Regions from separate parts of the Homo sapiens genome. Here all the other regions are linked to region 1. The links are contacts of gene promoters, found by promoter capture Hi-C in blood cells and fetal thymus (Javierre and others, 2016). All regions are on one chromosome and are shown on one strand. The core of a region is centred on a gene start or on the middle of the fragment in contact, and the rest is flanking DNA. Distances in the headings are between cores, read along the strand shown.

Evidence for each region. The method cuts DNA at HindIII sites, captures the fragments that hold promoters and counts their contacts. A CHiCAGO score of 5 or more calls a contact.
Region 2: a contact is called between a fragment that was not itself captured here and the fragment with the promoter of MYSM1 in region 1, in 2 of 17 cell types (naive CD4 T cells and total CD4 T cells). The highest score is 5.8, in naive CD4 T cells.
Region 3: a fragment that was not itself captured here is called in contact with the fragment with the promoter of MYSM1 in region 1 in 12 of 17 cell types (naive CD8 T cells, naive CD4 T cells, M0 macrophages and 9 more); the score reaches 8.6 in naive CD8 T cells.
Region 4: a contact is called between the fragment with the promoter of CYP2J2 here and the fragment with the promoter of MYSM1 in region 1, in 3 of 17 cell types (M0 macrophages, total B cells and naive CD8 T cells). The highest score is 7.4, in M0 macrophages.
Region 5: a fragment that was not itself captured here is called in contact with the fragment with the promoter of MYSM1 in region 1 in 2 of 17 cell types (M0 macrophages and M2 macrophages); the score reaches 6.1 in M0 macrophages.
Region 6: a fragment that was not itself captured here is called in contact with the fragment with the promoter of MYSM1 in region 1 in 6 of 17 cell types (total CD4 T cells, naive B cells, naive CD8 T cells and 3 more); the score reaches 7.9 in total CD4 T cells.
Region 7: a fragment that was not itself captured here is called in contact with the fragment with the promoter of MYSM1 in region 1 in 6 of 17 cell types (naive CD4 T cells, activated CD4 T cells, naive B cells and 3 more); the score reaches 9.2 in naive CD4 T cells.

The regions. Positions count from the first base shown.
Region 1 is chr1:58,698,789-58,702,387 of GRCh38, forward strand. MYSM1 (Myb like, SWIRM and MPN domains 1) reads right to left here and starts at 1,274. Exons shown (of 20, transcript NM_001085487.3): 1 at 1,197-1,274. The coding sequence starts at 1,264. RefSeq lists enhancers at 769-828, 1,039-1,448. The HindIII fragment of the contact is 3,791 bases long and covers 19-3,599 here.
Region 2 is chr1:59,857,058-59,860,361 of GRCh38, forward strand. HOOK1 (hook microtubule tethering protein 1) reads left to right here. Exons shown (of 22, transcript NM_015888.6): 13 at 1,371-1,458; 14 at 1,928-1,988; 15 at 3,131-3,271. Among named protein-coding and RNA genes, the nearest start is that of HOOK1, 44 kb to the left of the region's middle. The HindIII fragment of the contact is 2,638 bases long and covers 324-2,961 here.
Region 3 is chr1:59,780,089-59,783,603 of GRCh38, forward strand. The region is part of intron 4 of LOC105378758 (a long non-coding RNA gene); the gene reads right to left. The region is part of intron 2 of LOC101926944 (a long non-coding RNA gene); the gene reads left to right. Among named protein-coding and RNA genes, the nearest start is that of HOOK1, 33 kb to the right of the region's middle. The HindIII fragment of the contact is 3,465 bases long and covers 286-3,515 here.
Region 4 is chr1:59,925,438-59,928,990 of GRCh38, forward strand. CYP2J2 (cytochrome P450 family 2 subfamily J member 2) reads right to left here and starts at 1,336. Exons shown (of 9, transcript NM_000775.4): 1 at 1,100-1,336. The coding sequence starts at 1,309. RefSeq lists an enhancer at 684-1,219. The HindIII fragment of the contact is 8,163 bases long and covers 1-3,553 here.
Region 5 is chr1:59,948,843-59,952,181 of GRCh38, forward strand. It overlaps a transcript of CYP2J2 not described here. Among named protein-coding and RNA genes, the nearest start is that of CYP2J2, 24 kb to the left of the region's middle. The HindIII fragment of the contact is 1,666 bases long and covers 857-2,522 here.
Region 6 is chr1:59,797,030-59,800,526 of GRCh38, forward strand. The region is part of intron 3 of LOC105378758 (a long non-coding RNA gene); the gene reads right to left. Among named protein-coding and RNA genes, the nearest start is that of HOOK1, 16 kb to the right of the region's middle. The HindIII fragment of the contact is 336 bases long and covers 1,259-1,594 here.
Region 7 is chr1:59,829,502-59,832,856 of GRCh38, forward strand. It overlaps HOOK1 (hook microtubule tethering protein 1), which reads left to right. Exons shown (of 22, transcript NM_015888.6): 4 at 2,662-2,712. Among named protein-coding and RNA genes, the nearest start is that of HOOK1, 16 kb to the left of the region's middle. The HindIII fragment of the contact is 1,907 bases long and covers 315-2,221 here.

The DNA of each region.
Region 1 (3,599 bases), core at 24-2,523:
CTCCCTACTCATCTGCAAAGCTTTGAGGGACAATGACCATATGAGTTTAATCACCCCTCACGTCTTTATAGGGCTTTAGAGTTCATGATACACTTCTAAACACACTATCTTAGTGCCTCAAGCGCTGGGTTAGTACTTCTCCCCTGTTCACAGAGGCCCTAATATTAGGCTGAACTACATGAAGTTGCCGCTTTATAGAACAAAAATGGTCTAAATATTGGCAATTTCATATGGTTCAAGCTAATACAGTTCTAAGGAAATTGTACATAATTATAAACAACATAGCTGGCTGACTTTAGAACTCAGGCTTTCTGATTCCTGGCTAGTCTAGGACTCTTCATGACTAAAAGGAGACTCATTTTTGATTCAGAAAGCAAGGAGTCAAAGGAGGTTCTGTGTCAAATCACACTGGGCTGTTTGTTCTGCTGGAACAGGTATTTTAAAAAATGTGATCCCTTACTGGATTCTCACAGTACTGTCCCCGAGGGTAACAGGATGGTAAAGAATACATTCAGAGGGCACCTACCGTATGCTAAAGCATATCTCATAATCATTTCATTTGATCCTCCCAATTACATATCATGACTCCCAGTTTAAATATGAGCAGTCTGAGGCTCAGACAAGTTAAGTGTCTTGCCCAAGGTCACATTGCTATTAACTGGTAGGGCGAGCAAATGCAGAAGGAAAACCCAGAACTGTCCAACTCTAAAACCTGGCCCATTTAAGTCAACCTGCTTCTCGGGAAGTTTTACAACTATCCCCATGTGGAAGAAGGGATGAAACGACTCGCCCAAGGTCACACGGCTAGCAAGCCATAGAACAAGAGTCCCTGACCTCAGGTCTCGTCCGTAGCCGCTCTTGTTCTAGTTACTGTCGATGAGATCCTGAAAAGGAGGGAACGGAAGAAGGAATCTAAATGTAAATCAAACGCAATGTGGTAGGCGAAATCGGTGCCCTCACAGCATCCGGCAAAAGGTGAAAGCGACCCAGGAGTACCTGAGCTCCAGGTAACCGCCCTGCCCGCTGGGCTTGGGACAAGCCGGCGGGCGAGGTGCCTCCCAGGCCAACAAGAGACCCTGGCCCAGGGGACAGTCTTCTGTTCCCTTTTCCCTTGCCGGACCTGCAGCTTTCCCAGGGCCCGCTCCTTCAATCCACTCCCCTCTCCGCCCCAGAGAGACCCGGTCTCTAAGCCTCACCCTGGCTGTGCCCCCGCCGCCGCTACCACGTCCCCTTCGATATCCACATCCGCCTCTTCAGCCGCCATGATGGGACCTGACCCCGTCCGTCCTCCCGAGAGATCCCGCGAGACGAAGATGGCCCGGGGGCAGGGCCTAACGCGTCACGGGGCGGGATTGAAGCGTCGTCCGGCCCCTCCCGTGCCGGGAGGCGGGGTTTCCAGAGCAAAGGCGCCCCCAGAGGCCTGGGGCTTGGTCCTTTCTAACTTGTTGACATGTAGAGACCTTGGGAAGTGGCCCACGCCTGAGCTTTTTTTTTTTGAGAGGGAGTTTCACTCTTGTTGCCCAGGCTTGGGTGCAATGGCGCGTATCTCAGCTCACTGCAACCTCCACCTCCCGGGTTCAAGCGATTCTCCTGCCTCAGCCTCCCAAGTAGCTGGGATTACAGGCATGCGCCACCACGCCCGGCTAATTTTTGTATTTTTAGTAGATACAGGGTTTCACCATGTTGCCCAGCTGGTCTCGAACTCCCGACCTCCCGACCTCAGGTGATCCGCCCGCCTCGGCCTCCCAAAGCTCTGAGATTACAGGCGTGAGCCACCGCGCCCGGGCCCTCCTGAGCTTCTAAGAGCTTCTGTTCTTGCACACATTCTTTGGGACCTCACTGCTCTCACTGATAAAATGGGGATAACAGCAGTATCTTTCTGGACTGATGAAAAAGTCAAGCTAGACCCGCTTTGTGAACTGAAGGTTGCATACCTGCTGGTTATTTAAGTCTCTCTCTTTGTTTTTTAAAGAAAAGGGTCGTGCAGCACTTATGTGAAGTCGTTCAGCATTTCACCTAAGTGCTGAACAACTTTTATTTTAAAATTCAACAAATATTTAAGAATATAACTTATGATTGTGTAATTTATTTTGTAGACGTCTTTGCAATTTAAAAATCACGCTCATGACCATTAATCCTTACAGTGTCCCAGTGAGGTAGGCAGAGCTAATATCACCAGTTATACTTTACAGGTGAGGTAACTGAGGCCTGGAGAGCTGAAATGACTGTCCAAGGACAGGTAGCTTCAAAGACAGAGCCAGGAGTAGAATCCAGGCTTTGTTGACCCTCTACTGAGTGCTCACCATGTAACAATCATGTTGTTAGAAATTGGAGGATAAACACCACTTCTGTCTAGTTTATAGTTTCTCAAGAAATTAGATACTGACAGCCAGATGCGGTGGCTCACACCTGTAATCCCAGCACTTTGGGAGGCCAGGGAGGGCGGATCACAAGGTCAGGAGTTCGAGACCAGCCTGACCAACATGGTGAAACCCCGTTTCTACTAAAAATACAAAAATTAGCTGGGCGTAGTGGTGGGCAACTGTAGTCCCAGCTACTCAGGAGGCTGAGGCACAAGAATCGCTTGAACCCAGGAGGCAGAGGTTGCAGTGAGCCGAGATCACGCCATTGCATTCCAGCCTGGGTGACAGAGCGGGATTCCATCTCAAAAAAAAAGAAAAGAAAAAAAAACCCTTCTGCATTCCCCTGCCTTAGCAGCTATCACTCACACCTTGTAATTTTTCATCCGTCTGCCTTCTGCACTGGACTGTGAATTCCTTAAGGACAAAGACCACGTCTGCTAGTCCTTACACTACCAATATTCAGCATAGTGACACATAGCAGGTGCTCAATAACTATTGAACAGAGGAATGAATGAATTAATTAATTAATTAAATGACCTCACTTCTCACACTATTCCCAATTTGTCCCATCTCACCTTTGTTCTCAGGCTGCACTCTGAATATGATGGCAAAAGATGGAGAGAAAGAATTGCAAAGAGGGAGAGCCCAGTTCAGAAACCAAACACTGCTAGGGCCCATTCTCAGGCCACCATGGGAGTGCTGCTTCTGTTGTCAGTGGGCTTATCCAGTAACCAGTCCCACTGGTAACACCATGCCTGGAACAGAGTAGGCACTTAAAGATGTCTGTTGAATTTAATTTAGAGCAAAATTAGGGTTTCTTAAAAAGATGTAATGGGCTGGCCGGGCGCGGTGGCTCACACCTGTAATCCCAGCACTTTGGGAGGCCAAGGCGGGTGGATTACCAGGTCAGGAGATTGAGACCATCCTGGCTAACACGGTGAAACCCCGTCTGTACTAAAAATACAAAAGATTAGCTGGGCGTGTTGGTGGGCACCTGTAGTCCCAGGTACTCGGGAGGCTGAGGCAGGAGAATGGCGCGAACCCAGGAGGCGGAGCTTGCAGTGAACGGAGATCGCGCCACCACACTCCAGCCTGGGCGACAGAGCCAGAATCCGTCTCAAAAAAAAAAAAAAAAGATGTAATGGGCTAAATCATCAAAACAAATGTAAAATGGTATGCTTTTCACTGATTTTACATAGCAGGCAGGGATGGGGACCCTGGCAGGGCTGTCTGGAT
Region 2 (3,304 bases), core at 393-2,892, 1.2 Mb after region 1:
CTGTGGTGGCAAACAGTTGCTGATGATTCTATTTGCCAAATGTCTCGGAAATATTTCCTGCAGAGCAAGCAGTGACTCAGGTCAAATCATGAAGAGTCCCTACAAATGGGATTTAGGAAGCTGCAAGACAGGTTAAACAGTGACAATTCTCTGTGGATGGGGCTTTTTAAGGGAGCCCCATATCCATCCAGTCTGTGCCCATTCTGGTGGCTGCTAGAGCTGCTGGTTTTCACAGCTACAGCAATTGAAAGGCTGCTTGTTTTCAAGGTTACTGCAGAGCTGGGGAGACGGGAATCATAGTTAGAAAAGTTAAAAGAGCAAAAAGCTTACTGTTCTAACCAAGGTTTAGCAGGTTTACTTTAATAAATGCTCACCAGACTGTTGTAGGCCTTTGGTTTATTCCCAGAATTCTGAAATAGTTGATAATGACAAATGTGCTAGTGTGTGCATTACGTTAATGGAGGAACAGATTTACAGAGGTCTTTGTGCCTGCTCCTGCTAGATTTCCAACTTTAGGGTTCAGAGATCCTTAAGGCACCTACGGACCCCTTGAATCAGTTACCAGTTTACTGCTAAATTGATTTGAAACACGTAATGGACTAATTAGGGCTTTGTTTATTGACTTGGAACATAACAGCATTTAACACATGATTTTATATTCAGTAGTACTTTTCAAGTTCTGGGAAAATGATTTAAACATGAACGTTCTGTTCGTAACCTAGAAGTTTGTCATTGGTGTAGGCTGTAAAATAAAATAGTCAGTGATATGAAGTACCAGCTTGCTGTCCTTGGGAAATGGTGTTTTTCCGCCAATGTGTATCTCCAGGATACTACTTACCACTTCTTCCAGTTGAGTTTCACAACAGTGGTAAAAAGTAACTAGTCTCCAGCGTCTCTTACACACCAACCTATATTCTAGATCCTTGACTAATACCACCTTTGTTATTCAGAACACCTTTGCAAGGGTTTATGTATCAGTATTCCTATTTTGAAGTTATGGATACTAAAGCCAAAGAGTTATATAAGTTGCCTAAGACAATATAGCTAGGAAGTGGTGAAATTGGTATTCAAACCATGGTCTTTATGCCTCCAAAGTCCATGCTTTTTTATTACCCGTTGCATATCTGTCCTCTGTTACATAATTGCATTCATTTTGTTCAAAGATAAGCTATCTGATGGGAAAGTCAAAACCATGTATAAAGACACATACTATTTATGTAACTGAATAGAAAATGAGCTTCTTAAAACTAAAACATTGTCACTTAAAATTAAGCAACAATTATTAAACTAGTTAAGATAAATTGTAAGCATAAAGTACATTGTTTATAGGCAGAATTAAATACTTTGCTGATATCAACAATTCTTTTCAGAGACTAATTGAGCAGCGTGATACTTTGAAAGAAACAAATGAAGAGCTTCGATGTTCACAAGTACAACAGGACCACCTAAACCAAACAGGTTAATTTTGTTAGATTTAGAAAAGTTTCAGCCTGGGCAGCATAGTGGGACTCCATTCAACAAAAAATAAAAACTTAACCTGTCATGGTGGCGCATGCCTATAGTCCTAGCTCTGGGAGGCTGAGGCGGGAGGATCACTTGAGCCTAGGAGTTTGAAGTTGCAGTGAGCTATGATTGTACCACTGCACTCCAGGCTTGGTGTGAAAGAGAAAAAGAGAGAAAGAGAGAAAGGAAAGAAAGAAGGAGGGAAGGAAGGAAGGAAGGAAGGAGCACGGGAGGGAGGGAAAGGAAGGAAAGGAAAGGAGAGGAGGAGGGAGGGGAGGGGAGGGGAGCGGGGAATTGGGTTTTTGGACAGAGAGAGACCCTATCGAAAGAAAGAAAAACAAAGAGAGGGAGGGGGGGAAGGAGGGAGGGTTTTTTAAAATAGTTGAAATACTGAAATGCTAATTTATTTTTTGTTATTTTTTAGATGCATCTGCTACAAAAAGTTATGAGAATCTTGCTGCTGAGATTATGCCAGTGGAATATAGGTAAATTTGTTTCATAATTTGATAGAATTATATTTAATATTATAATTTTTTTGTTTTTTGTAAATGTCTTGGCCTTTAAAAACTTATTTTATGACTCATAGAGCTGAAAATTACTGTTTGATCTACTTAAACTTTCTAAATCATATTATTATTGCTACCACAACAATTTAAAATTTTATCAGAAGTAAAATTTCACAAACCCGTTGAATAACATATTTTAGTTTTTATAATATGACATGACCCCCATGTGCTATGTTATAATTGCTTTAACTAGGGAGATTTAAGTATATACTTTAAAGTTAGGAAATTATTAGAAAACAAAAATCAATATGATTTCACAAGCCTTTGATGGGAGAAGTGGTAAATGTATAAAGGGAGAAAAGTTACTTATCTTGCTTAGTGGGGAGTCAATCATTAACTTAAAATTAGTAATTTAAAAAATAGCCATATGAGCTTTTTTTTTAAGAGTTATACTATTGGCATTCAGAAGAACAAAAATTGAGATTACTTGAAATTAGTTGCTTTTGAAGAATGGGATTTGGCAGGGGAACAACTAAGGGAGAGTATTACCTCCCTATTTAATACAAATAATATTAACATCAATAATATTAATAAAAAGTTGCATTTTTTAAAAGTACATGTAAATCTTTAATAAAATTTTTTTCAGAAACAAAAGATCTAGAAACTTTCTTATTGCCATTATAAGGTATATATTAAAATTTTGCTCAAACTATAGTTTCTTAAATCTATTGCTTTTCTTTTATGTGTTTTCTAAGCATATACTATTTGTTTCCTTTAGCGAATAGTTTCTAAATTACCAAAGTAATATAATTTCTATTATCTCTTCAGGAATGGCATAATAACAATTTAATGATTTATAGCATAATCTTATATGGTACCTATAAAATTTGACTGCTTTTTTTTAAAGGCACAGTCTTGCAGTTTACATAATTTTTTCTTAAACACTTTCAGAAGCTTTTGTTGGAGTTTAAGAGTTTCATACCCTACCAGCTATGCTAGCTGGTCCTGCTTGCATCTTAAAATGGTAGCTATTGAGTGGACAGGAATTTCCTTTTTTTAACTAAAGAATATAATGACTCATATTTTTAAAAATTAAAAAAGATTTTGCTTTGTAACATCAGGGAGGTGTTTATTCGACTGCAACATGAAAATAAGATGCTTCGCTTACAGCAAGAAGGCTCTGAGAATGAACGTATTGAGGAACTTCAGGAGCAGCTAGAACAGAAACACCGTAAAATGAATGAACTGGAAACTGAGCAGAGGTGATATGCTCCTTAGTAACTGAAAATCTTGGT
Region 3 (3,515 bases), core at 768-3,267, 1.1 Mb after region 1:
TGGATGAAGTCCATCGTGGTGAGAGTGGAATGATCCAGGGGATACGTGACCACAAGGGGGCCAAGGCTGGATCACATAAGACCTTGAAGGCCATGATAAGGAGTTCAGATGTTGTCATAGTGTAATGGAATGCCACTGAAGGGTTTTTAAAAGAGGAGGGAGTTGCATTCTACTTCACATAGAGTTGTAGAATCATGTAAAGTAGAAACCTCCTCAATTTCCTCAGCTCCTCAATCCCCACCCCACTACCCATAAGCTTTTCCCTGCAGGCACCCATCTGCAGGAAGCTTTACAGTTGGCCACCTCACTCTGGTCCACACCAGAGTCTTATCTTTCTGGTCTTTAGATTTCACCAGGCCACAACTATAAAATGACTTATATGAAAAATACTTGTATACTTTTATTATAAAATTTGCTGTCATTTACATTATTTGTTCATTCACTCAGTCTTTTCTAGGAACTATATCTGATGCCTCCCAGAACTCCAGAATCTACTAAATATTAAGAACAGTGTTTCCCTCTATTCCTCAGCTGCCAAGGAGCTCATGACTACATTTAATATACACACAATTGTATTTTCCTCAGCTATGAAATCATGATAAAATAGTTCTTGCCTTCCCCTTCATTGATTAGTTGCCTTTATAGTATGCTAGAATTATTTTACTATGCCAGTACTTTTATTGTAAGCTAATTGAAGATTTTTTGAAATTAGAACAGTTTTACCATTTTTAAAAATTAGCAAAAAAAAAAAAAAAAAAAGAAGAAGTATTTTCTGCCACTTGATAAAGGACTTTTCTCTTTAACACCAGTAACAGCCTCAGCATGAGGATTCTGGTAACAAGGAACCCCTGAGGTTGCTCTGGTTTTTTCTGAACAGCTCTAATTACTGTAAAGTTATTAAATGTTTATTGATTGTAGAACCAAATGAATAAACAATGGTCTGTTGTTCTACTAAGTTCAAAACACATTAAGGAAACAATTTGTTTATTAAAAGCATGGATTTTTAAAAGCATGGATCAAATATAAAAATAAAAATAGAAGGGTTTTATATAATATGTAAAGTAGTACTAATAGAATGCAATAAAGACAAATAATTATCCCCAGGGGAACACTATTACAGGCAGGCTTGATAATGATTTATTTTTTCTTTCCTTTTGTGATAATTATTCACTCATTGGTACTAAGAGATGCTGACAGTTCACTAACAAGATGATTGCTTTTGCTTCACATATTCTGTGCTTTCCTCTCATTTTAGTCCTAAGACAAATTATTCAATTACTTTCAGGTGCTAAATTTGTTTTAATAGTGTCTATTCTATGTAGATATATGATTCTCTAATTTTAATAAAATTAGAGCAATTTTATTTTGATATTTTAGAAATACACTGAATGCCATTTAAAATGTTAAGGAATTCTTAGTTTTTTCACCATACATAAATTTAAGTTTGGAAGTGAAGTCAGAATAGACTTGAGACTTAGATACCCAAGACTTGGATCTGAAATGCAGCCATACCACATACTAGCTGTGTGTGAACTTGGACAAATTAATTAATCCCTTTGGGTCGCTCTTTTTTTCAATTTTAAGGTAGAGTTGGTGGTAATCACTTCTCTACCCAACTCACTGGGTTGTTATGAGGTTCAAATGAAACAATGGCTTTGCACACCATAAAGTTCTTGTCAAATATCGGTAATAGTATATGTATTCACTTATTTCAAAAACATTTGTCAAACACCCACTCTATGCCCGGCACTGTGCTCATGCCAGAAATGTGCAAATGTTTGAATAGAAGATTATGAAGATGATTATGTCACTGTTTCTTAGGTTTAAAATGTACATATCTTACACCAACATAACAACGTGAATATATAATACAGTTACGATATTTCTTCCCATTAAGGCTTTTGATTATATTTTGCTCATTTTAGAAGTAATAACTTTATTCTAACTTTGTCATAGATATTATATACTGAATGTAACTAATTAAACAATGTAGTTGAAAATCTTGTAAACAGGATACAATATATAATTCTATTATTTCTAGTTAGAAAAGCCAGAAACTGGTTAATTTTTTTTCTTTGAGACAGGGTCTCACTCTGTTGCCCTGGCTGGAGTGCAATGGCATGATCATGGCTCACAGCAGCTTCAAACTGCTGGCCTCAAGCAATCCCCCTGCCTTGGCCTCCCAAAGTACTGGGATTATAAGCATGGGCCACCATGCCCAACCTAATTTTATTTAACCAGTGAATTCCAACAGGTTTTATGTTTAGTTCCCAGTGTTGTCTCTTATTGATTCTTCTTATTTCGAACTGACAGTGAGCCCAGACAGAGTTTTAATATAAATTGTCATGGGGAAACACTCTTGAGATCTTCTGTGTCTTCTGTTTTTGAAGAGTTTGTTTCACAGTCAAGCAGAAACAACAGTATGGACTCTAAGTGCAAGAGAAATGTGTGCTATAATTACAAAGGCAGCAATGAAATATAATTACTACAGGGGCAGCAAGAGGCAACAAGATAATAGGCTGAGTTCAATCATTCAAAAAATACTAAATGAGCATTTACCAATGTACTTTGCTAGTGACAGGGAATACAGTAGTTAATGCAGAGCTGATACTCACTTCATGGAGTTTAGAGAAGTGAAGAAGAGTTCAGAAAAGTTAGAGTGAGTCTTTTTTTATTTTTATTTTTAGAGACAGTGTCGCACTCTGTCACCCAGGCTGGAGTGCAATAGTGCAGTTACAGCTCACTGCAGCCTTGATCTCTCAGGTTCATGCAATCCTCCTGCTTCCGCCTCCCAAGTAGCTGGGACCACAGGCACAGGCCACCACACCTGGCTAATCTTTAAATTTTTTTGTACAGACAGGGTCTCACTATGTTGCCCAGGCTGGTCTTGAACTCCTGGGCTCAAGCAATAATCCTGCCTCAGCCTCCCAAAGCAGTGAGGTTACAGGCATGAGCCACTGTGCCCCACAAGTCTTCTAAGCAGAGAAAATAGCACCTGGGAGGGCCTTGGAAGTAAGAAGTATGGTGCCTTCAAATTACTCCTGGAGCATAGAGGACATTTACTGAAGTGTTCTGTATATCTTTGTATTTCTCACAATATCAGGAATGGGTTGTCCACAGATATTTTTGAATCTATAATAAATGGTGAACACCAATGAGCATGGCACCATTGGGTCTGCCAGTCCTCCTGGAGCATGTCTGGTTCTGAATGTCAGAACATTAATATTTTCATTGGGAAAATGTGAGTCTTGATAGCACTACACAGAATGATAATGGAAATATAATGAGGTGATAAAGGAGCAAACTTTAAAATGTAAAAACATCATCAAATGTTTGTTGTTCATCTTTGAAACAATTGGAACAGTGGAAAGAACATGGAAAAGAACAAAATCAAGGAAGATACTAGATTGAAAGGGGTCAGAATCTTGAACATTTTCTTAATTTTAATTCTAAAATATGTCAAAGAATAGAATGTTTCTGAAGCTGAAATAGCCATATCTGTGTCAATGTCAGAG
Region 4 (3,553 bases), core at 86-2,585, 1.2 Mb after region 1:
ACCTTAACATATTTAAAAGAACTGAAATTGTACATAGTATGATGTTTGACCACAATGGAGTCAAACTGGAAATAATTAACAGAAATGATAACAAGAAAATCTCCACATACTTGGAAATTAAACAACATATTAATTAAATAAGGACACAGGTTTGGGGGCTTAGTTTTAACATTCTGTGGCTAATTCTGTCACTTAGTATTACCAATTGGGTATTTCTCCCATAAAGTGATAAAACTTTGTCTATCAATATTTGAGGGCAATATACAGCCATGTGTTTAAAGTACTGCAGGCATGTGCAGGGAAAGGGGAACTACTATTTGTTATGTACCAACTATATGTCAGTATTGACCATTCACTATTTTATCTAATCTTCATAATCACTTGTCACACTGTTGTCTCTCAGCAAGTTACCTGTGCTGAGTGGCAGGAAAACCAGTATTGGTTTCTTGAGATAGGGTTTGATGTCTGAGAGAACTTGAAAGAACTTGGTCACCAGAGTCGGGGAGCCCTGATAGGAGATTATTGTATAGAGACGGAAAGAAGCTGCATCAAGAAGGGTCCCAGGTGGTTCAGTCAGGAGTCTGAACACCGTTTGGCAAAAATTTAAGCAGAGGAAGAACATTTTAAAATTATTACTTAGTGAGAGTGCACTGCAAGGGAAGGAGGTTGAAGCTGGAGGGCTCAGTTAGTGTAGTGGGAATAACTCAGTTGAGAAATGATCAAGATTGAGGTAGTATTATCACCATTTTATGTATGGGAAATGAAGTTTCTCAGAAAGAAAGTATAGCATTTTTAAGGACAATCATATAAAAGAGGGCAAGGTAATCACATTACAAGTAAGGTGTTCCAGTAATGTTTAACATGACAACATGCAAATAGTAAACATTTAATAATATTCCATCCCTAGAAAGTGCAGGTGGAATCATGCCAGTTAATGGGTTAGGAAATGAAACTCAAAGTGGGTTTTACCAGGTTACCAGCGTTAGCCACACCTCTTCCTGCCCTTCATCCCCCACCCCACCCACGTTGCCGGAACGTCCCTTGTGCTGCAGAACAGAGTTAGGGTCAGGACACGCTAGGCACCTTCTCCCACTCCTACCAGCTGAACCTCCAGGTGCGACTGCTCGAAGTCCACAAGGAAGAAGTTGCCAAGGAAGGGCAGGCGCCAGGGCCCCGGCGGGTAGTTCTTTGGGCGCCGTCTTTTGAGAAAGTCAGCAGCGAGCAGAAAGGCGACAGTGCCCAGTAGGAGAGTCCGAGGATGGACCACTGCCCAGAGGGCAGCCGCCAGAGAGCCCATCGCCGCGAGCATGGCTCAGACGTCCTCCTGCTCTTCTGCGGTCCAAGCAGGCGGCGGTCCCAGCAGGCGACGGTCCCCGCCCCGCCTCGCTCCCAGCCGTGCCCCGCCTCCCAGCCCGCCCCTTCGCAGCACCCTGCGAAGATGCCAGGCGCTGGATTCCCGGGAGGACACGCACCGGTCTCAGAAAAGGCCAGGCTAGGAGCAGTTTCTTTTCTATTTAGAAAGCTCATGGGTTTACTGAGAGCGCCACAGACATTTGAGCCTCTGTTCGGTTCAATCACCGTCTCTCCTATGATTGGAACTGTGCCTGGTAAACAGCGATAACAACAGCAGTACCTAACATTTCTTGGGCTCTTACTATATGCCAGGCAGCACATCCGCCTCTTTACATAGATTATTATTTCATTTTGACAAAATTATGAAGGAGAAGCTCTCGGTAGTCTCATCTTGCTGTTGAGGAAACAGAAAAGTTAAGTACTAAGTATGTGGTGAACAAATAAATCCACCCTTCTGAAACACATCTAAACGAGGTCCTGTATTTGAAAGTGTCTGGAAGATTAAAAGGCACTACACCAAAGCTGCTAGCACTGAGCAGCAGCCATAATAAGTGCTTAATTAACATTTGTTGAAGGAATGTCTTAGTTCCGATCCTTGCTGGTTTGCTCTATTAGGCTCCTCTCCAAAGCCCCAAGACTGTGGGACCTCCAGGTTCCAGCCTTTCATACCATCTGGTGAGTGCCTGCTTGGGTTTCACAAATGGTGAGACTGAAAACATGAAACATAGCTCAGGAATAGTATAGTACACACTCATGTACTCAACATAGAGTCACATATTCTGCTTACAATATTTTATTTTATTTCTTTATTTTTGAGACAGAGTCTTGCTCTGTCGCCCAGGCTGGAGTTCAGCTCACTGCAACCTCCACCTCCCGGGTTCAAGCGATTCTTCTGCTTCAGCCTCCCATGTAGCTGGGACTACAGGCACATGCCACCATGCCCGGCTAATTTTTGTATTTTTGGTACAGATGGGGTTTCGCCGTGTTGGTCAGGCTGGTCTCAATCTCCTGACCATAGGTGATCTGCCCACCTCAGCCACCTAAAGTGCTAGGATTACAGGTGTGAGCAAGAAATGAAATGAGAGTTGAAGTCTCTTGTTCTCTTTCTAAGGTCCAGAGAGAAATACTAGTCAGAGCTTAGCTTTTATCCTTCTAGTCCACATTTTCCTGTTTTACTACAGCTGTTATGCATCCATACAATATTTCTAATATTTATATATGATATTTTTACACGAATTATTCTACAACTCAGTATTATGTGTTTGAGATTTATCCTGACTGATATATGTGGCTCTAATTCACTTAATTTAATAGATGGATAGTATTCTATTACTATGCCACAATTTATTTGCTCATTCCCGTATCAGTGGACGTCAGGTTTGTTATATCTCTCCTTCCTTTTTATTTTTTGCATTAAAGAATGATGCAGGGGAATGACTTCCATAATGGCAGCATGAGAAACCCCACAGAACCTCTTCCTAGTAAAAAATTGTGATTGCTAAAAATTATTTATAAAACTAAAATAATTTAAGTCCCTGAAAATTGTTCTAAAGGCATACAGTAAATAAATAAATTTTATTTAAGAAGAATCTACTAAATGCTAGTAAACACAGTAAGAGTCTGTGGCATTTGAGCCATAACTCACTCTTTCTCCTAGTCCCCAGATCAACGTGACAGAAACCCCATTCTAGACAGTTAAATCCAAGAACACTTTCCCTAGCTCTCAAATGAAGGCTACAGTATCTCCCTGAGATGGAAAAACTGCCAGCATTTCTTATACCCAGCCCCCAGAATGTCATGTTGCAGAAGCTCTATTCTAGGCAAGACTGGCTAAGAGGTCTAGGGATATCCTCCTCCATCCAGCCCTGACTTGTAAGGCAGAAATAATACCTACCCCGGGCCATAATTGCCCTCATCCCAGCTTTCTCATGAGATAGAGGTTCCACACTGGGAGAGGTTAGCCACAAACACCAGAGATGAATGCCTGAAACAATAGAGATTTTGGTGGTAAGCAATTAATAGGAGGCTGGTAATTCTATGAGAACAAGAGGATAAACCATAGGCTAACTAGAAGTTTACCAAAGTCGGTCAGCACAAGAGTTAGCTAGGAAGAACCCTCTTGGGACCAGAACAAATCTCAAAGTCTGGCCTCAAAGACTATTCCTGAGAAGAAGCCCAAATTTAATTGCATCAAATTTTG
Region 5 (3,339 bases), core at 440-2,939, 1.3 Mb after region 1:
AAACCCATTTTGGAAAATACTGACTTAAAGAAGAAAATCCAAGCTGGGTGAAGTGACTCACACCTGTAGTCCCAGCTACTCAGGAGGCTGAGGAAGGAGGATGGCTTGAGCCTAGCAGTTAGAGGCTGTAGTGTGCCATGATTGTGCCTGTGAATGGTCACTGCACTGCAGCTTGGGCAACATAGTGAGACCACATCTCTGAAAAAAAAAATGAAAGAAAAAGAACAGAATTCAAACTCTCCTGATGGCATTCAGAAGTCTTTACAGGCTGATCCAACTCCTCCTTCTACCCTGTCTCTGTTGTTGCCTATATTACTGACATACTTGATCTCAGACCTATTGCACAACTTATGGGTCCATAGAGCACCACATAATTTCCTATTTCTATGTTTTTGCGTGTGCATGGAATGTCCTTGATCCTCTTTGTCTGCTATGGATTTCTAGTCATTTTTCAAAAGTATGGATATAAAAGCTATTTGTCTTTGAGTTTTTCCAAATCCCACCCCTGACTCCTAGAATTGACTGCTTCCTCATGTGGTATTTGGATAAAATCCTTATGTTCCCTTTGACTAAATATACTTATTTTTTAGTGTATTGTATATTTTTGACTTATTTGTATCAATTTACTGTTAGATTTGAGGGAAGAAACTGTATATCCTTGACAACTTTCCAAGTTCATGGAGTTCAAAAAATGTTTGTGGAGTAAATAAGTGAACACCAATATCTTCCATAAAGTCTGCAGGCTAATTCCATAAAGTCTCAAACAATTCCATCATGAGTAAACCCCGGTAACCCCCAATCACTAGAGGGAGCAGGTCCTAATTTCTCTAGTGGGATATCTTGATCTGTGACTGGAAGCTTTTTTTTTTTTTTTTTAGAACAAGTGCAAGATTTTATTGAGTGGAAGTAGCTCTCAGCAGATATTTATTTTTCCCTTCCTTTACAGAAGTCTTCTTGCCAGGGATTTTTTTTTTTAATGGCTCCAGTCACCTGGAGTATTCTGCTCCACCCTCTCAGTACCACCCCAGGACTTCTGCTATTGTTTGCCTTACTACTTTCAAGGAAGAAGGAGGGGAATATTCTGTTGGCATTTTTGGATGCTCTTTTCTTTTTCCTCCTGTTGTTGTTCTGTATCATCTGACCTGGTGAAAACTTTTGGGAATGGGGAAGAAGCATAGTCCAATTCAAAGACCTGAACAGGTCAAGACTCTCTAACAACTAATGAATTGCACTTTGAGCTGAATGGTCCATTGTCAACTCGGTATTATTAGCACTCCAGCTAAAGACTCTAAGAAGCCATGGACTCCATTTCCGAGAATCTCCTTCCCATACAGTTTGGGTTAGAGCTTACCAATGAGTAGGAGAAACAGGATATTTGGTAGGTATGACGGAAGGAGACACTGCTCTTCTCCAGTCAGTTGCAGCCCTAAGTAGGTACAGGTACAGAATTCAGAGAGGTTCTTTTGTGAGCTGTCAAGACCATTTGCTTTGCTGCAACAGGACAGCACAATCAAGAGCTTCCCAGAGCTCTTCATATTTCATTGACTTGATGGCAAGCTCTTTAGAGCCCATTTCAGATCCTCAGGCTGAATCTTCAGTGTTGGCCTCCCTGACATTTGCTTCCCAGCTTTCCAAGTGGATGGGTAAGTTCTTTACACCTGGAATACTTGGAGATTTTTCTGCATTGCTAACCAAACTCTGCCATCTCTTGCAGTAATGAGGTAGTGAACAAAGGAGATAGTTAGGCTGTTTACAATGAAGCGGGTAATTTAAATCACCCCCGACCATAGTGGCTTGACCAAAAGCCATTTCTTTGCTCCCAATTCTATGGGCCAGGACTTTGGGCAGAGCTCAGCTGGACTGTTCATCTCAGTCCTGTGTGCACTGCCTGCTGTGGCTCAACTAAGATGGGGAGGTCCAAGACGGTCTCATTTGACATCTGAGGCATTGATGCTGGCTGTCTGCTGGGCACCTCAATTCTCCTCCACATGTCCCTTCTGTCCGCATGGTCTCTGACTGTTCAGTGGTCTAGCTGGAATTCTTTTCCATGTTGGCTGGCTTCCAAGAGGGTGAAAGCAGAAGCTGCCAGGCTTCTTAAGGCCTGAGCCTGGACCAGCATAGCACCACTTCTGCCAGATTCTATTCCTCAAAGCAAATACCCAGCCCAAATGGAAGGGAGGGGAGCTAGATTCCCCTCTTGAAGGAAAGAATGGCAACGTACCTTTGTAAGGAGCATGGGAGGAATTGTGGCCACTTTTGAAAACAATTTCCACACTAGCTAAGGAAACTGACATAGAAATGGTTAAGTTACTTGCCCAAGGTCACTCAGCAGCTAAGTAGCTGGGCCAAGGTTTGACCTTGATCAGTTCAATACCAGTGTTCATGTTCTTTACCTCTACATTCTGTTGCTTTACAACTTCCTTTTTATTTATCTCTGATCCTTCTCCAGACTACATGGTTTTATGTCCAATTCCCACATGGCTTTCAAGGCCCAGAAAAATGTCACTTTCCCTGTTTTTCTAAGCTTGAAATAGTCCTACAGCTTAAACTTTCATAGCATTTCTCTTAAGGTTCTTCACATTTAAAAAAAATAATAAAGCAAAAAATCAGATAACTGAAGCAGAACCTTGAGTGTTTTAATATTTTAATCAATATATGTGGTCCTTATCTTCCCTGTAAGCCTGTTAAGAACCCTGTAACTAGGCTTGGGTCCTATTTATCTATCTCTTGGATCATATAGTGTAAGACCAGTACATAGTAGTAATTAACAAATACTAAATGACTGGTCATGGAATGAGCCTACCTTATTTCTGAAAACCCCTTCTGACCTCTCAGTGCACCAAGAAATGTATGGTGACTGAAAGTAAGCTCTGAGGGTCTTAATCCCATCCTTATTAGTCACCAAGGACCCTCCTGTCTTCTCTCCCGACCTTGCTCTTTCCACATGCCATGTCCAGCTAGCTTCTGGCCCTTGGTGTAATACCATATCTTTGGCTCAGCTTTTAACTATCAGTTTTGACATTCTTGTTTTTGACCCTATTGCCCTCTGAGCAGCGCTTTTAATCAAATCTCCTACCCCACTTCCCATCTCTGTCATCGAAACTATGGCTTTGACCACTCTACTATCTTCTTCATAATATCAGGGGTAGGGTCTGTTTTGTTCATTGTTGACTACCCAATACAAAGTTCACTAAATACTGTAAGGCTAGCACCAAACCTATGCACTTAACCAGGCCCACCCTGGTCCCAAATGAGACTGTGTTTCAGATAGAGTGAATGACAGAAGCATCTAATGAAGTGCTGGGGGCTGCCTTTGTGCTAGGGAGGAGCATGAGGGCA
Region 6 (3,497 bases), core at 177-2,676, 1.1 Mb after region 1:
ACAATTCTTTCCCCCATTGAATGGTCTTGACATCTTTATTAGAAATAAATTATCCATAGATATATTGATTTCTTTCTGGACTCTCAATTATACTCCAGTGACCTATATATCTACCTTTATTCCAATAGTACACTGTTTTGATTTTTGTAACTTTGTAGTAAGTTTTGAAGTATGGGTTTAAGTTCTTTTTGCTTTCTTTTTCAGGATTTTGGATGTCCTGCATCTCTTGCAATTCCATATGAATTTTAGAATCAGCTTCTCTATTTGTTCAAAAAAGAAGTTGAAATTTTGATAGAGCTTGCACTGAATCTGTAGATCAATTTGGGGAGTATTGTCATCTTAATATTATATCTTCCAATCCATGAACATGAAATCTCTTTCTACTTATTAAGGTTCTCCTTAATCTCTTTCAGCAAAATTTTATAGTGTTCAGTGCACAAGTGTTACAATTCCCTGGTTAAATATATTCTTAAATATTTTACCGTTTTGATGTTACTTTATTTTTATTTTTCTGTTTGTTTTTGTTTCATTTGTTTGTTTTTGAGACAGAGTCTCACTCTGTCACCCAGGCTGGAGTGCAGTGGCATGATCACAGCTCACTGCAACCTCTGCCTCCCAGGTTCAAGTGATTCTCCTGCCTCGGCCTCCTGAGTAGCTGGGACTACAGGCATGCACCATCACACTCAGCCAATTTTGTATTTTTAGTAGAGACAGGGTTTTGCCATGTTGACCAGGCTGGTTTTGAACTCCTGACCTCAAGTGACCCGCCTGCCTCAGCCTCCCAAAGTGCTGAGATTACAGGTGTGAGCCACCACACTGGGCCTGATGTTATTTTAAATGAAATTGTTTTATGGTTTCTTTTTCAGATTGTTCATTACTCGTATATATAAATACAATGGGGTTTTATATACAATACAGATATCCATTGTAGAAATACATGGAGTTTTGATATTATATTCTGCAACTTGGCTAAATTCCTCTATTAGCTTGCTATAGTCTGGATGTGTGGCCCCTCCAAATCTCATGTTGAAGTATGAACTCTATTGTTGAAGGTTGGCCTAGAGAGAGGTGTTTGGGTCATGGGAACAGATCCCTCAAGAATGGCTTGGTGCTCTCCTCACAGTAATGAGTTCTCACTCTGTTAGTTCATATAAAAGCTGGTTGTTTAGAAGAGCCTGGGGCCTCTTGGTGGCTTCTCTCTTGTTCCCTCTCTCACAGTGTCACATGCCTGCTCCCCCTTCCTTCTGCCGTGAGTATAAGCTTCCTGAGGCTTCACCAGAAGCCAAGCAGATCCTGGTGTCATGATTGTACAATCTGCAGAACTGCGAGCCAAAGAAAACTCTTTATAAATTACCCAGTCTCAGGAATTCCTTTATAGCAATGCAAAACAGAGTAATGCATAGCTTTAGTAGTTTTTTGTTTGATATAAAATCATGTCATCTGTGACTAGAAATAGTTTTACCTCTGCCTTTCTAATATAGATGCCTTTTATTTCTTTTTCTTACCTTGTTGACCTGGCTAGAACGTTCAGTATAATGTTGAATGGAAGTGGCAAGAATGAAAATTCTTGTCTTGTGCCTGATATTACAGGGAAAGCTTTTGGTCTTTTACATAGAGTTTGATGTTAGCTATGGAATTTTCCAGATGGCCTTTATCATGTTGAGAATGCTGCCTTCTATTTCTACTTTACTGAGTGTTCCCATCATGAAAGACTGTTGAATTTTGTCAAATGCTTTTTGTCATCAGTTAAGATGAATGTGTGGGGTTTTACTCTTTCTTTCATAAATGTTGTAATATGTTGATTTGACTTCTTTTCATATGTTGAACCACCCTTGCATCCCTGGAAAAAATTAGTCATAAGGTATAATCCTTTTAATCTAGTGTTGAATTTTGTTTGCTAGTATTGTGTTGAAAATTTTTGCATCTATATTCATAAGGGATATTGGCATGCAGTTTTCTCTCCTTGTCATATCTTTGTCTGGCTTTGGTATCAGGGTAATGCTGGCCTCATAGAATGAGTTGGGAAGTATTTCCTCCCCTTCTACTTTTTGGAAGTTTGAAAAGAATTACTCTGCTTCATAAAATATTTGGTAGACTTTGCCAGTGAAGCCACCCAGTCATGAGCTTTTTTCTGTTAGAATTTTTGATTACTGATTCAATATCCTTACTTGTTTTAAGTCTATTCAGATTTCATCTTGAGTCAATTTTGATAGTTTGTGTGTGTAGTTTGTGTGTTTCTAGGAAGTTGTTCATTTTGTTTAGGTTATATGATTTTTTTTCACATAGAAATGTTTATAGCACTCTATATAATTCTTTTTATTGTCATAAGGCTAATAGTAATATTACCACTTTCATTTTTTATTTGAATCTTCTTTTTGTCTTCATCAGTTGAGGTAAAAGTTTGGCAATTTTGTTGATCTTTTCAAAGAACAAAGTTTAGTTTCATTAATTCTCTTTATTGTTTTTCTATGTTTTGTTTCATTTACCTCTGCTCAAATCTTTATTATTTCAGCCCTTCTGTTTGCTGTGGGCTTAGTCTGCCTTTTTTTTTTTTTTTTTTTTTTTTTGCTAGTCACTTAGGAAGGTTAGGTTATTTATATAAGATTTTTTTTTAACGTAGGCATTTAAAAGTATAAATTTCCCTCTGAGCACTGCTTTCATTGTATCTCATAGATTTTGGTATGTTGTGTTTTCATGTTCATACATCTCTATTTTCTAAATCCCCTTGTGATTTCTTCTTTGGCCCATTGGTTATTTAAGAGTATGTTGTTTAATTTCCGCATATTTGTGAATTTTCCAGTTTCCCTTCTGTTATAGATTTCTAATTTCATTCCAAAGACACTTGTTATGATTTCAATATTTTAAAATTTATTGAGATTTGTTTAGAAGTTTAACATATGGTTCATCTTGGAGAATTATCCGTATGCGCTTGAGAAGAATGTGTATTCTGCAGTTGTTGAATGGAGTGTCCTGTACATGTCTCTTAGGTATAGTTGGCTTGTAGTGTTATTCAAGTCCTCTATGTCCTTGTTGATGATCTGCCTAGTTGACTTATTCATTATTGAAAGTGGAATATGCAACTGTCCTACTCTTATTGTTGAACTGCCTACTTCTGTCTTTAATTGCCCATCTTTGCTTCATATATTTGGGGCTCTGTTTATAGGTTTATAATTGATATATGTTCTTGATGGATTGACCCTTTATTATTATGTAATATCCTGATTTGTCTATTGTAACAATTTTTTCTTTTTTCTTTTTTGAGATAGGGTCTTGTTCTATTGCTCAGGTTGGAGTAGTACAGTGGTACAATCACATCTTACTATAGTCTCAACCTCCTGGGCCCAAGCCCGCCTGCCACCTCAGTCTCTCAAATAGCTGGGACCACAGGTAAATACAACTAAGCCCAGCTAATGTCTTTATTTTCTTTCTTTCTTTCTTTCTTTCTTTCTTTCTTTCTTTCTTTCTTTCTTTCTTTCTTTCTCTCTCTTTCCTTCTTT
Region 7 (3,355 bases), core at 18-2,517, 1.1 Mb after region 1:
TTGTTGTGTCTTGTAGGACATTTGTTTCATACAGGATGTATGATTTGTTGATACACAGTCCTTAACTGAATTACTGTGCTAATAATGTGCTAATAACTGATCTTTAATGATGTTTCCTTTTCTTTTCCTGCTATTGGTTATTTGTGTCTTTTGAATTTATTTTCCTTGATAAGTCTGGCTAGATGTTTTTCAATTTTACTTATTTATTTTTTAAAGAATTAGTGTATGTTTTCTATTCCATTGATTTTTCTGATTTTTATTATTTCCTTTCTCTCACTTAACCTGTTCTTCTTTTTCTTGCTTCTTAAGGTGGAAGCTTAAATAATCAACTCTAAACCCTTTTTTCCCCTAATATTAACCACCATCTTAGCCACATCCCACATATTTTGACAGACTGTTACTTTATTTTCATTCAGTTCAAAATATTTGGTAATTTCCCTTATAAAGTTTTCTCCTTTGACCTATGAGTAAATTAGAAGTAGGTAATTCAAATTCAAAATATTTGAGGATTTTCCAGTTGCCTTTCTTTTATTTATTGGTTTCTAATAGATCTGAGACAATACTCTGTATTGAGAAGTTATTTTACATTTATTGAGTCTTATTTTATGACCGAACCTATGGTCTGTCTTGGTGAATGTTCCATGTGCATATGAAAACAGCATGCATTCTACAGTTGTTATATAAATATAGATTTTGTTAAATTTGTTGATAGTGGTATTTTCCATATCTTTATTGATATTTTTTCTTATTATACTATGTGTATAGTGTAGTATAGACTCTGTAGAGAGCCCTTAAATCTCTAATGATGATTTCGATTTTGTTGATTTCTCCTTTGCATTTTTTTGCTTTTTACTTCATGTATTTTGAATTTCTGTTATTAAGTTTATTACACACTATATTTCTTGTGTGTTCTTGAATGAATTCACTTATTATGAAATGCTTTTCTTTATCCCTGGTAATATTCTTTTATTTGAAATCAAATTAGCTCTAATATTAATGTAGCCACTACAGATTTTTTATGATTATATTTTTCATTAGTATTTCTTTTTCCATTCTTTTAATCTGCCTATGTCTTTTTATTGAAAGTGTTTCATGTAGACACCTAATAGTTGGGTCTTACATTTTTATCCAGTTTGACAATCTGTATTTGATTCTTTATTGTAAAAAACCTTCTATTTCTTACATTCATGTTTTTGTTCAAATCCTTGAACATCTTTAAACTAGAAGTTTTAACATTGTCTCAATTCTTTTATCTTTCATTTCTGAACCCATGTGTATTGACTGAGTTTTCTCCTAATTTTGGTTCCCACTTTCCTGCTTCTTCACATCTGTAGTAATTTTTTAATTGGATGCTAAACATTATGAATTTTATTATTGAATGCTGATTTTTTTTTTTAAGTTTTTTTTTTTTTTTCCTGAGACAGAATTTCGCTCTTACGCCCAGCCTGGAGTGAAGTGGTGCAATCTCAGCTCACTGCAACCTCTGCCCCCGAGGTTCAAGCGATTCTTCTGCCTCAGCCTCCCGAGTAGCTGGGATTACAGGTGCCCACCACCATGCCTGGCTAATTTTTGTATTTTGAGTAGAGGCGGGGTTTCGCCATGTTGGCCAGGCTGGTCTTGAACTCCTGACCTCAGGTGATCCAACTGCCTCAGCCTCCCAATTAAGTATATTCTTTTGAGGAGTGTTGAATTTTCTTCTTGCAAGCAGTTAAGGTACTTGGAATCAGTTTGATCCTTTAAAGGCCTATTTTTGGCTATTGTGGGGGGCAGAACTAAAGTTATTCTTTCCTTTAGGACTAAAGTAGACTCATTACTAAGCTGTGACCTTTTTGGGGGTCTTTAGTGAATGTTTTGTGCGTGTAGCATGGTGTCTTCATTCTGGCTAGTGAGAATTTCAAAAATTTTTTGGCCTGTATAATCTTTGGGAATGGTTCAGTTTATAGTTCCCTGGATTGTTATTTCTTTGGAAAGAACATTCAGTTTCACCCATCCACATGCAAACTGGTATTTAGCCAAAGAGTCAAAGGAACCATTTTACACAAATCTCCAGAGCTTGCTCATTCCATAGCTCCCATCTTTTCATCGTCTGCCTTGCAAATTCAAACTGCCCAGGCCTTCCTGAACTTCTAATGTCTTATCTCTTCAATCGGTGAGAACATCAGGCTTGGTGTTTGGTTTCCACCTCCCTATGCTGTAGTCTGAAAATTGCCTCAAGACAGAAAGCTTGTACTAGTGTAGGGCCCATTTTCTGTTTGTTTTCATTCTTTCAGAAAGCAGAGTTCTGTACTACTTACTTGTCTAAAGCTTGCAAACAATTGTTTAATGTATTTTGTCTTATTTTCTAGTTATTAGTGACAGGAGAGAAAATCAAAACCCAGTTAACTTGCTCATGACTGCAGCTGGACATGCCTGTGTATAAATTTTTACAGTGGGCCCTTGAGTTCATTGTGACCCACTTTAAATAGAATCACCCTACTTAACTAAACACTGATTAAATCTCTGATGGTTAAAAAGCATCATGTGTTTGTATTTATAGAACTCTATTATAATGTTTTTGTTGTTCTTTTTAATTAGGGGAAAGTTTTTATTGTCTTTCATGCTGACATAACTTTTCTTTCATTATTAATCTGAAATAAGAATCTCTTATTTTTTTCACATTAGGCCAGTAATGTAAAGAAGGTCCTTCAAGGAATTATGAGTTATTATCATGAGGTATGAAAACCATCTGACTTTGTTTAAATGCATCATGCTATACGAAAATTACTTTAAGACTGAAAAATCACTTGGTTTTTTGTTTATAATATTTTACTGGAATGTAAGTCATAATTAGAACATGTTTTATTGTCATTTTTATAGAATGCTCATTTGTGAAAATAAGCTTGGATATATTGATTTGTAAGATAACATTGCTTAGGTATTGATACTCTCCGAATTGATTTTCAAGTAGAATTACCTTCATCTTTAATATATTTGATTTTGTGCAATACTATAAAGTAGACTTTATAATTAATTGAAATAATTTTCTATTTAAAGCAATATTTTGACATTTCTTCCCAGCGTAAACAGTAGCAAAGACATAAATGAGATTATGCTCATACAAGTAAATTGGAAAAAATGCAAAATAAAAGTAGTATTATAAAGTCACTTTAGATAGTACATTAGTCAAATAGTTTTGTTTTTTCTTATTCAGCATCATAACAAGTTCTCTAGTAGGGTTTTTGATATAAGAGAGTTTATTGCTGAATGATTGGCAGCTTTTGAATGACTTTTCCATTAAAGAATTTTTGTTTCTATTCTTTAAAGTCGTCACACAATTAAACTTGTAATTTCTTCCCAAAATGTTTAATATTCTCTA